Regions from separate parts of the Homo sapiens genome. Here all the other regions are linked to region 1. The links are contacts of gene promoters, found by promoter capture Hi-C in blood cells and fetal thymus (Javierre and others, 2016). All regions are on one chromosome and are shown on one strand. The core of a region is centred on a gene start or on the middle of the fragment in contact, and the rest is flanking DNA. Distances in the headings are between cores, read along the strand shown. Region 1 holds the start of CD19 (CD19 molecule). Region 2 holds the start of NUPR1 (nuclear protein 1, transcriptional regulator). Region 3 overlaps SGF29 (SAGA complex associated factor 29).

Evidence for each region. The method cuts DNA at HindIII sites, captures the fragments that hold promoters and counts their contacts. A CHiCAGO score of 5 or more calls a contact.
Region 2: the fragment with the promoter of NUPR1 here is called in contact with the fragment with the promoter of CD19 in region 1 in 9 of 17 cell types (fetal thymus, erythroblasts, non-activated CD4 T cells and 6 more); the score reaches 8.7 in fetal thymus.
Region 3: a fragment that was not itself captured here is called in contact with the fragment with the promoter of CD19 in region 1 in 1 of 17 cell types (total CD8 T cells); the score reaches 5.2 in total CD8 T cells.

Annotation. Positions count from the first base shown.
Region 1 is chr16:28,929,744-28,933,581 of GRCh38, reverse strand. CD19 (CD19 molecule) reads right to left here and starts at 1,611. Exons shown (of 15, transcript NM_001770.6): 1 at 1,494-1,611; 2 at 970-1,236; 3 at 468-671; 4 at 73-348. The coding sequence starts at 1,581. The HindIII fragment of the contact is 16,330 bases long and covers 1-3,838 here.
Region 2 is chr16:28,537,724-28,541,561 of GRCh38, reverse strand. It overlaps NUPR1 (nuclear protein 1, transcriptional regulator), which reads left to right and starts at 2,588. Exons shown (of 3, transcript NM_012385.3): 1 at 2,588-2,766; 2 at 3,407-3,556. The coding sequence starts at 2,655. The coding sequence ends at 3,543. RefSeq lists an enhancer at 2,595-3,794. The HindIII fragment of the contact is 7,417 bases long and covers 375-3,838 here.
Region 3 is chr16:28,569,658-28,573,495 of GRCh38, reverse strand. All of the region lies in intron 1 of SGF29 (SAGA complex associated factor 29), which reads right to left. Among named protein-coding and RNA genes, the nearest start is that of SGF29, 18 kb to the right of the region's middle. The HindIII fragment of the contact is 5,033 bases long and covers 1-3,838 here.

The DNA of each region.
Region 1 (3,838 bases), core at 362-2,861:
TCTAAGATTGACTGGCTTCCACTTCTTCCCAGTACCCCCACACAGATGCCTCCCAGTTGAGAGAAACTCTACCTGGCCGAGCAGTGATCTCCAGGTGGAATGACATGGTCAGGTTGCCACGGTGACAATAATACTTTCCAGCGTCTTGAGCTGTGGCCCGGGGCAACAACAGACCCGTCTCCATTACCCACATATCTCTGGCCGGGCGATCGTCCTTCAGCTCTAGGCTCAGCAATGACTTAGGCCCCTTGGGGTGCACATGGGTCCAGGAGAGGGGGCCCCTGGACACAGAGTCAGGGGGTACCCCACAGGACAGCCAGAGTGTGGAGCCAGGGGCCATGGTGAGGTCTGGGACAGGGAGAGATAAGACAAGGAAAGCCTGATCCTCAGGGTTTCACCTCTTCAGTTTCCCCTCCCCTCTGTCTCTGGACCCCCGCTTCCCGGCATCTCCCCAGTCATCACCATACCCTGGCTGAGGCTCTGGTTCAGGCTGTCCCTCGGTGGGAGACACGGAGGCTCTCCCTCCCAGATCTCAGGGCGGTCTTTGGCCCACACATACAGCTTGGGGCTCATGAGCTTCCCGGAAGGGGAGCTGGGGCCCTCTGAGGACCTGTTCTTCAGGCCACAGCCCAGGCCACCTAGGTCCGAAACATTCCACCGGAACAGCTCCCCTGGGAAGAGACCCAGAACCAAATGCAGAGACACCCAGGAGAGGGAGAGAGATAGAGACTCAAAGACAGAGATAAATAGAGACAAAGACCCGCAGAGAGAGAGAAGACAGTGAGAGGTAGAGGGACAGGAAGCAGCTCATACTGAAGCCACGAAGCCCCAGGAGTCTGCCCACCTAGCTCCGAGTTTCGCCCTCAATCCCTCCAGCCCCTCTCTCCAGCTCCATTGTGGCCGCGGACCTCTTCTGTCCATGGTGGCCTCCCTTCTCTCCTCCTGCCCCTGCCCCAGCCCGGCCCTCACCGCTGCCCTCCACATTGACTGTCCAGCCAGGCTGCCAGGCCTTCTCAGAGGGGGGCCCCGGCTGGCACAGGTAGAAGCCCCCCATCTGTTGAGAGACGTTGAAGATGAAAAGCCAGATGGCCAGGGGCCTCATGTGGATTCCCAGGCCTGGCAGCCCCAGGCTGAGTTTTAAGAAGGGTTTAAGCGGGGACTCCCGAGACCAGGTCAGCTGCTGAGTGGGGCCATCTGAGGTCCCCTTGAGGCACTGCAGCACAGCGTTATCTCCCTCTGTGGAGAGAGAGGGAGAGAGGTGTGGGCATGGGTGGGGGGGACCTCCAAGCCCCCCGACTCCTCACACCAGGTTATAGAGCAGAGGACTCCAAAAGCTGGGAGTGGAGGAGCCGGCAGAGTCCTTCCAACCCTTTCCTGAATTTTACAAATAAGAAAATGGAGGCTCAGAGAGGGTAAGTTACTCAGCCAAGGACACCCAGCCACAACTCAAGTTTCCAGCCTCAATCCCTTCCCTTTCTGCCCTTTGGACATACCTTCCACCTTCACCACTAGAGGTTCCTCGGGCCTGACTTCCATGGGGGTGAGGAAGAGGAGGAAGAAGAGGAGGCGAGGAGGTGGCATGGTGGTCAGACTCTCCGGGGCACCCAGCTTCGCGCAGGGGATGCTGGGGCAGGCAGGGGCCTGGAGGGCACTCAACCATGGGTGTCTGCGGGGGCGGCAGGCAGTCCCCCCAGAGAGGAAGGCGGTGGTCACGCCTCAGGCCCCATTCTCCAGGAACCCTCCAGACTCACAACACTTGCCTCCTCCCTGCCACGCTGTTTTATTTTCATCCCAGCTCTCACTACCACGGGAAATGATCTTGTGTGTTTATTTGTTCATTTCTGTTTTCTGCACAAGAATGTGAGCCCCTTGGAGTAGAGACCGTGTTGTTCACCACTAATTGCAAGTGCTCTAGAACAATGCTGGGCACATAGACTCCTTCTCAAAAAAAAAAAAAAAAATTAGCCGGGCATGGTGGCGCACACCTGTAATCCCAGCTACTTAGGAGGCTGAGGCAGGAGAATCACTGGAAACCAGGAGGCGGAGGTTGCAGTGAGCCGAGATCACACCACTGCACTCCAGCCTGGGCACCAGAGTGAGACTCTGTTTCAAAAAAAAAAAAGAAAAGAAAACAGTCCTATACAAATATTGTTTGTGAAGATTAAAAATGACAATATGTTCAGCACTATTAGCCCAGTGTCCAGCACATCATAAGCCCTCAGTTAATGAGATACAGCTTCAATTAATGCCTAAGAGCTCAAGTCATACTGCCTCAGTTTAAAACCAGGCAAAAGCCAGGCACAGTGGTACACGCCTATGGTCCCAGGTCCTTGGGAGGCTGAGGTAGAAGGATCGCTTGAGCCCAGGAGTTCAAGGCTGCAGTGCACCATGATTATGCCTGGGAATAGCCACTGTGCTCCAGTCCGGGCAACACAACAAGACCCTGTCTCTAAAAGAAAAATTGTTTTAAAAGAACCCAGGAGTTCTAACTCCTAAATCTGTTCTTATTCTGCCCCATGCCTCTCCTCTCTGTCTCTCTCTTTCTCTGTCACTCTCTATGTGCCTCTGTGTCTTTTTCACTGCTGCAGGGACTCAGAAAAAGAATTCAGGGACCCAAGAGACCCACTTTCTCAGTGGCTGATTCCCAGGCCCATCTCACCAGGCTGTGACTTCCTGTTTGCTGTGGGCAAGCCCCAGGGGACCCTCCCTACAGGTGGCAGGGCCTCCACTTCCCTTTGGCCAGTTGAGGCGGCTGGGAGGCGGAAGAATGAGGCATGAATGAAGGGGAATGAAGGGGGCGAGTAGCAGGACTCAATCTGCCTTTCATTCAACAAAATCTCTCTAATCCCCTCATTAGCTACCCAGCTGCCCAGACTGGCTTTCACTAGAGCATGTCATTCCCCTGCTTAAAACATGTCAGTTACAGCCAGGCACAGAGGCTCATGCCTGTAATCCCAATACTTTAGGAGGCCGAGGCGAGAGGATCCTTTGAGGACAGGAATTTGAGACCAGCCTGTGCAACACAGCGAGAACCCATCTCTATAGAAATTTTTTAAAAAACAAAAAATGTCAGTTGCTTTTCATCTAGCTAAAATAAAAACTCCAACCCAAGGCCTAGTAGGCCGAGTGTTGCTGACCTACCTACATTTTCCACCTCGTGCCTCCACCACTCTCCTTGCCAAGTGCTTCCCTGCCTCAGGGCCCTTGCACTTGCAGCCCTTTTTCCTGGATCTCTGCTGGGGGCTCTGGTTCTTTGCTGGACTGGTTCTTTTCATCACTTAGGTCTCAGTTCAAATGGTACTTCTTCAAAGAGGCCTTCCCTGTGCCCCCCAGTGCTTCAAAAATCTATATATTATTATTTAAAAAAATATATCTCAGGCCAGGCGAGGTGACTCACACCTCCCAGCACTTTGTGGGGCCAAGGCAGGCAGATTGCTTGTGCTCAGGAGTTGGAGACCAGCCTGGGCAATATGGCAAAACCCATCTCTACCAAAAATACAAAAAATTAGCTGGGTGTGGTGGCACATGCCTGTGGTCCCAGCTACTTGGGAGGCTGAGGCGGGAGGATCAGGGGGATGGAGGTTGCAGTGAGCCAAGATGGCACCACTGCACTCCAGCCTGGGCAACAAGAGCCTGCTCTCTTTCTTTCTCTCTCTCTCTCTCTCTCTCTCTCTCTCTCTCTCTCTCTATATATATATATATATATATATATATATATATATATATATATATATATCTCGGCTGGGCGCGGTGGCTCACGCCTGTAATCCCAGCACTTTGGGAAGCCCAGGTGGGCAGATCATTTGAGCCCAGGAGTTCGAAACCAGCCTGGGCAAAA
Region 2 (3,838 bases), core at 1,339-3,838, 390 kb after region 1:
AGGTAATTTTTGTATTTTTAGTAGAGACGGGGTTTCACCATTTTAGCTAGGCTGGTCTCGAACTCCTGATCTCGTGATCCACCCACCTCGGCCTCCCAAAGTGCTGGGATTACAGGTGTGAGCTACCGTGCCCGGCCCCAACCTTCTTTTCTTTTTCTTTTTCGAGTGCAGTGGCACGATCATAGCTCACCGCAGCCTCAAACTCCTGACCTCAAGTGATCCTTCCACCTCAGCCTTTCAAAACAGTGGGATTGCAGGTGTGCCTCACCTTATCCAGCCTAGGTGCCATTAATCCCACTGTATAGACGAGTAAACAAACATGCAGACTAAGCTTGTCTAAGAGCACACAGCTAACTAGGGGGCAGAACCAAGCTTTAGACCTGAGAAGCCCTGTTCCAGAGCCTACTCCTTTAACCATTAACTAAACTAAACCAACGGTTGCATGCCAGTGGGGACAAATAATGGTAAAGCAAACAAATAAAAAAGATACTGGCCAGGTGGCTCACGCCTGTAATCCCAGCACTTTGGGAGGCCGAGGCGGGCAGATCACCTGAGGTCAGGAGTTCGAGACCAGCCTGGCCAACGTGGTGAAACCCCGTCTCTACTAAAAATATAAAAATTAGCCGGGCGTGGTGGCACAAGCCTGTAATCCCAGCTACTCAGGAGGCTGAGGCAGGAGAATCACTTGAACCCAGGAGGCGGAGGTTGCAGTGAGCCGAGATCATACCACTGCACTCCAGCCTGGTGACAGAGTGAGACTCTGTCTCAAAACAAAAACAAACAAACCAACAAAAAAAGGATGGAGTCTTGCTCTATTGCCCAAGCTGGCCTTGAACTCCCAGCTTCAAGCAATCCTCCCAGCTTACCCTCCCAGAGCCCTGGAATTACAGGCATGAGCTACCGCACTAGGCCAATCTTTGCTTAATTTAAGATTATTTTCCTCTTTCTCTGATCACCTGGTCTGTTATTATTGGCCCAATCCTGTTTTCATTCAAGTATCCTGTCTTCACTTTCATTTCCTGGGTGTTAAGGAACTCATACATCATCCAAATCTGGGAAAACAAAGGCTAAATTCAATTCCGGCTCAGGCAAGGGAGAAACACAAGCAGAAGTTCAGCTTTTTGTGTTTTTGTTTTTGTTTTCAGACACAGTCTCATTCTGTTGCTGAGGCTGGAGTGCAGTGGCTCGATCTCAGCTCACCACAACCTCTCCCTCCCAGGTTCAAGCGATTCTCCTGCCTCAGCCTCCTGAGTAGCTGGGATTACAGGCACTTGCCACCACACCAGGCTAATTTTTGTATTTTTAGTAGAGATGGGATTTCGCCATGTTGGCCAGGCTGGTCTTGAACTCCTGACCTCAGGTGATCCACCCACTTTGTGGATCTCCCAAAGTGCTGGGACTACAGGCATAAGCCACCACGCTCGGCCTCATTGTGTCTTCTGCCTCAGTACATCCATATTTTGAAATACATATTATTTTATTATAATTTGTTTTTGAGACAGGGTCTCCCTCTGTCACCGGGCACTGTAGCATGTGTCTTTCAAACATTATCTCATTTGATCCTCTCCCCAACTCTAGGAAGAAGATACAATTATTATCATCCTTATTTTACAGAATTGGAAACCAAGGCACAGAGAGGTGAAGGGACTCGCCCAAGGTCACACGGAAAGTGGTGGGTCAGGGGATTGAACTGAGGGCAACTGGCTCCAGACCCTGAACTCTCCAACCCTCTGCCACCCTCCTCCTAGGTGAGGGAGATTACATTACTGGGGACCCTGTTTCAGGATATTAAGGGGTTTTCCAAGATGTTTCTCATAGAAAAAAGAAAAAAAAGGGTGTGGCTCATGCCTGTAATCCCAGCACTTTGGGAGGCCGAGGCAGGCAGATGACTTGAGGTCAGGAGTTCAAGATCAGCCTGTCCAACATGGTGAAACCCCATCTCTACTAAAAATACAAAAATTAGCCAGGCATGGTGGCAGATGTCTATAATCCCAGCTATTCGGGAGGCTGAGCCAGGAGAATTGCTTGAACCTGGGAGGAGGAGGTTGCAGGTTGCAGTGAGCCAAGATCACACCACTGCACTCCAGCCGGGCGACAGAGACTCCATTTCAAAAAAAAAAAAGAAGACAAGCAAGATGTTGAGTGTGACTGGGTGGAAGCCACTGACTTGTCCCTGGCACAAGTGTGCTGATATCCCTTCCCCCTCCTTCCTCACGTCCTGCATCTCAGCGAGAATTGGGGTGCCGGGGTTAGCTGTGTGGCCGTCATCCCAGGCCCAGGTGAAGCCCTCGATCAGGTGAGGCCATGATCCCAACGAGTGTTTTAGCCCAGATCCTGCCTCTTCCCTGCTTTCTGCCGAGAAGCGGGACCTCCTCTATGGAAAATATCCAGCTGGGTGAGCCTGGGAGGGAGGAGGTGAGTTGGGCTGGACTCAGGGACCGACTCTTCCCGTCTCATGACTGTGTTTACTGGGCTGGATTTTGGGAAGGGGCCAGATTGCATCAGACAGGGCCTGATGGGCTGGAGCCAGACTGTGGTCTGAGGAGGAGACACAGCCTTATAAGCTGAGGGAGTGGAGAGGCCCGGGGCCAGGAAAGCAGAGACAGACAAAGCGTTAGGAGAAGAAGAGAGGCAGGGAAGACAAGCCAGGCACGATGGCCACCTTCCCACCAGCAACCAGCGCCCCCCAGCAGCCCCCAGGCCCGGAGGACGAGGACTCCAGCCTGGATGAATCTGACCTCTATAGCCTGGCCCATTCCTACCTCGGTAAGGCCCACTCAGCCATCTCCACGGTCCTTCCTCCTCTCCCGAAATCAGGACCCACCCCTCTTGTTTCCTCTCATTTCCTTTCCTTTCCTCTTCGTTTCTTTCTTTCTTTTTTTTTGAGAGAGTCACTCTGTCACCCAGGCTGGAGTGCAGTAGTGTGATCACAACAACTCAAACAACTCACCGCAGCCTCGAACTCCTGGGCTCAAGTGATCCTCCTGCTTCAGCCTCCTGAGTGGCTGGAACTTCAGGTGTACACCACCTGCAGTGGTGAGATGGGGTCTCACTATGTTTCCCAGGCTGATCCCAAATTCCTGGGCTCAAGCAATTCTCCTGCCTTGGCCTCCCAAAGTGCTGAGATTACAGGAGTGAGCCACCCTGCCCAGCCCACTCACCCTTTTCTAGCCAACCTGTTCCTTGGACCCTCACGTCACCCCTGTCTAATCCCTTATCCCAGGAGTGCTATGTTACTCAGCCTGGGACCTCACACACATCTGGGGTCCCACATTCCACAGAGGGGAAGCAGCAGGCTTCTCCCTGCTCTTCCCATCCCCACAACCCTGAACCCCTGCCTCTCCTCTGACAGGGCCTCTCATCATGCCTATGCCCACTTCACCTCTGACTCCTGCCTTGGTTACAGGAGGTGGAGGCCGGAAAGGTCGCACCAAGAGAGAAGCTGCTGCCAACACCAACCGCCCCAGCCCTGGCGGGCACGAGAGGAAACTGGTGACCAAGCTGCAGAATTCAGAGAGGAAGAAGCGAGGGGCACGGCGCTGAGACAGAGCTGGAGGTAAGGAGTCGGGGGGCCCAGAGAGCTCAAGGTGGTGCTTCTGCCATGAAGGACAGGCCGGAAGGTGTGTGATTGGGTGGGGAGGAGGGATCAGGCAACTGTTGTCTTGATGCAGAATAAAACGAGACATATGTTTGATTGTGAGTTTCCTAGTGGCCAGAGCAAAGTGGGAACACAGAACCTTTCCAATTGAAGGGAAATTTGACTTACAGAGACAGAAATTGAGGATAGAGAGGGTGGGTCCTTCCCTGGAGTCACAAATCAAGTGAGTGGGAGAGGCAG
Region 3 (3,838 bases), core at 598-3,097, 360 kb after region 1:
TTGTGCAGGGATCCGGTGCTGCTTCCTTGTCCCCACTTCACTTTCCAACCCACTTCTCTAGCTCTGTCCTCATCAGTCTCTCATCAAGAGAGTCAACAGCCCCTGCAGGGGAAGCGTGAGGGCCCTCTCTGCTGCTTCCGATGTGGCCTACTGATCTTGACATGATGCTACTCCCTTCTCCTCTGGCTTCAGGGCCTCCCTCCTGGCAGTTCGCCGGCCACCCACCTCCAGCTCCTCCTCTGGGCTGGAGCCTGGCTATCTCTTACACCCCCCCAGGTCCTCACCCCCACTTCCCAGCTGTGTAGTGCCATCTCCCAATCTGTACATCCGTCAAAAGAAAGTCACAGAAGGGATGATAAACAGCACCAAATGCCACAGAAGAGGACTCAGAGGGGTCTCCCAAAGCTGAGGAAGTCACTGAGGACCTTGGGGAAAACATTTTCCGTGGAAGAGACAGAAGCCAACACACAGGAGGGGGAGGCAAATGCAGGAAGCAAATGTAGGTTACTCTGTCTGGGAGTACAGCTGGGAGGCCAGCGAGCAAGAAGGGGTATGGGGGGTGCTGAATGGAGGAAAGTGACACGGAGGAATGTGAACACGTGGCTGGGGGGAGTTTCATGCTGAGAAGCCAGGGACAGAAGAGGGGGCTGTGTGAGAGGAGGCAGGCGCAGCGAGAGACAGGCTCTAGCACTGGATCATACCCAGCGACACCTCCCCGGCTCAGCTGACATTCCTTCTGGCCTGTTCCCTCTACACTGTCTCAGACACACGATCTTGCTGCCTGCCCACTCCTACCTGCAAAGCCCTTTCCCTTCTGGCTCAAGGCTGCGCTTGCCTGACCAGTCCTAAAGAAGCACACTTTTCTCTTGCTTGATTCTTCCTAGAACTGACATGGACTCTGCAACACGCCTTTAGAAACTGGCCTTCTACCGGGCGCAGTGGCTCACGCCTGTAATACCAGCACTTTGGGAAGCCGAGGCAGGCGGATTACCTGAGGTCAGGAGTTTGAGACCAGCCTGGCCAACATGGTGAAACCCTGTATCTACTGAAAATACAAAAGTTAGCCAGGCGTGGTGGCCGGTGCCTGTAATCCCAGCTACTCGGAGGCTGAGGCAGGAGAGCTGCTTGAACCCAGCAGGCGGATGTTGCAGTGAGCCGAGATCGTGCCACTGCACTCCAGCCTGGGCAACAAGAGCTCCGTCTCAAGAAAAATACAAAAGGGCCGGGCGCAGTGGCTCACGCCTGTAATCCCAGCACTTAGGGAGGCTGAGGCAGGTGGATCACAAGGTCAGGAGATTGAGACAATCCTGGCTAACACAGTGAAACCCCATCTCCACTAAAAATACTAAAAATTAGCCGGGCGTGGTGGTGGGTGCCTGTGGTCCCAGCTACTCGGGAGGCTGAGGCAGAATGGCGTGAACCCGGGAGGCAGAGCTTGCAGTGAGCCGAGATTGTGCCACTGCACTCCAGTCCGGGCAACAGTGCGAGACTCCGTCTCAAAAAATAAAAATAAAAATAAAAAAAGAAGAAACTGGCCTTCTAGCCAGCTGCTATTGGTGTATCTTTTCTTCCCCAACAGACTAGAAGCTCTCAGGCAAGAACGGAAATCTCTGCTTTCATCAATCAATCACCACTCATTAGTAGCGTCAGGGACTTAGCAGGCACTTTTCTAATTTTCACTACTTCACACCCCAGCTCTCTCCTTCCCTGACCCCCATCTCCACAGTTAGGTCCACTTTGGATTTCCTTACATTGACTCTTCCAAACTTTTTTTGAAAGCGTAGGCTTTCCTTGGCTTCTGCAAGCTACCGCGTCAACTATGAACCACATGGTACTGACTCCCAAATCGATCCCCAGCCCAGAGGGCTTCCCAAAGATTCAGAATCTTTTTTTTTTTTTTTTTTAAGGCGGAGTCTAGTTCTGTCGCCAGGCTGGAGTGCAGTGGCGTGATCTTGGCTCACTGAAACTTCCACCTCCCTGGTTCAAGCGATTCTCCTGCCTCAACCTCCCAAGTAGCTGGGATTACAGGTGTCTGCCACCACGCCCAGCTAATTTTGTATTTTTAGTAGAGACGGGGTTTTGCTTTGTTGGCCAGGCTGGTCTCGAACTCCTGACCTCAGGTGATCCACCTGCCTCGGCTTCCCAATGTGCTGAGATTACAGGCGTGAGCCACCATGCCTGGCCAACAACAGAAATTTATTGCTCACAGTTCTGAAGGCCGGAAAGTACAAGATCCAGGCCCCAGTAGATTCGGCATCGCTCTCCGCTTCAAAGATGGTGCCTTCTCACTGCATTCTCAACATGGCAGAAGGGGCAACACAAGTCCCTCAGGCCTCTTTCATAAGGGCGCTAACCCCATTCTTGAGAGTGGAATCCTCACAGCCTAATCACTTCCCAAAGGCCCCACCATGTTGGGGATCAAGTTTCAACATATGAATTTTAGGGGAACACAAACACTCAGACCACAGCATTTGGCTCCTGAACCCCCAAAAGTCATGTCCTTTTTACTTGCAAAATACATTCAGTCCACCCCAATGGCCCCAAATAGAAACTCATTCTAGCATCAACTCAAAAGTCTAAAGTCCAGAGTCTCATCTATCATCTAAATCAGATATGGGTGGCTGGGTGTGGTGTATCATGCCTGTAATCCCACACTCTGGGAAACCAAGGTGGGCGAATCACTTGAGGTCAGGAGTTCAAGACCAGCCTGGCCAACATGGTGAAACCCTGTCTCTACTAAAAATACAAAAATTAGCTGGGCATGATGGCAGGCACCTGTAATTCAGCTACTCAGGAAGCTGAGGCAGGAGAATCACTTAAACCTGGGAGGCAGAGGTTGCAGTGAGCCGAGATCCCACCAGTGCACTCCAGCCTGGGTGACAGAGTGAGGCTCACTCTCTCGCTAAATAAATAAATAAATAAATAAATAAATAAATAAATAAATAAATAAAATTTAAAAAAATCAATCAATCAATCAGGTATGGGTGAGACTCAAAGTACAATTCATCCTGGGGCAAATTCCCCACCATCTGTGAGCCTGTGAAATCAAACGTGTTATGTGCTTGTAAAATACAACGGTGGGACAGGCATAGGACAGACATTCTAAAAGAGAGAAACAACAAAGAAGAAAGGGGTAATAGGTCCCAGGTAAGTCCAAAACCCAACAGAGCAAACCCCATTCAATCTCAAGGTTTCTGAACAACCTTCTTCAACTCTATGTCCTCCTACCTTCTGGACACACTGGCAGGGACATGTTGCTGGGCTCTGGGCAGCCCTGCCTGTACAGGTTTGCTGGGCACAGCCCATGCAACAGCCCTCACTTGTTGGAGTTGCATGCCTGTGGCTCTCCCAGGCTGGAGTTGCACACTGGTGGCTCTACCAGTCTGGGGTCTCAGAGGCAACCCTACCCCCATAGCTCTGCTAGGCAATGCCCTAATGGGGACTTTCTGCAGGGGCCTTACCCTGTGTCAGTTCTCTGCCTGGGCCCAAGGCTCTTCAGGGCATCCTTTACAATCTAGGTGGGGGTAGCCATGCCCCTACAGCTTGTGTATTCTGTGCACCAGCAAAGACAGCGCCATGTGGATGCTGCCAAACTACCTCGGGCTGCCAAGGAGCACTGCCCCAGAATGCTAGGAACAGAGCCTTGAAATGGTTCTGCCCCCAACACCCTGGGCCTTCTGGGCCTGTGATGGGGGTGACAGCCCCCACATGCCTTCGGGGTCATCCTTCCATTGTCTTGATTAGTACCTGGCTTCCACATCCATACTAGTCTCCTTATCAAAGGATGGCTTGGCCACACCTTTCATATTCTCTCCAAATACATTTATTCTTTTTTTTT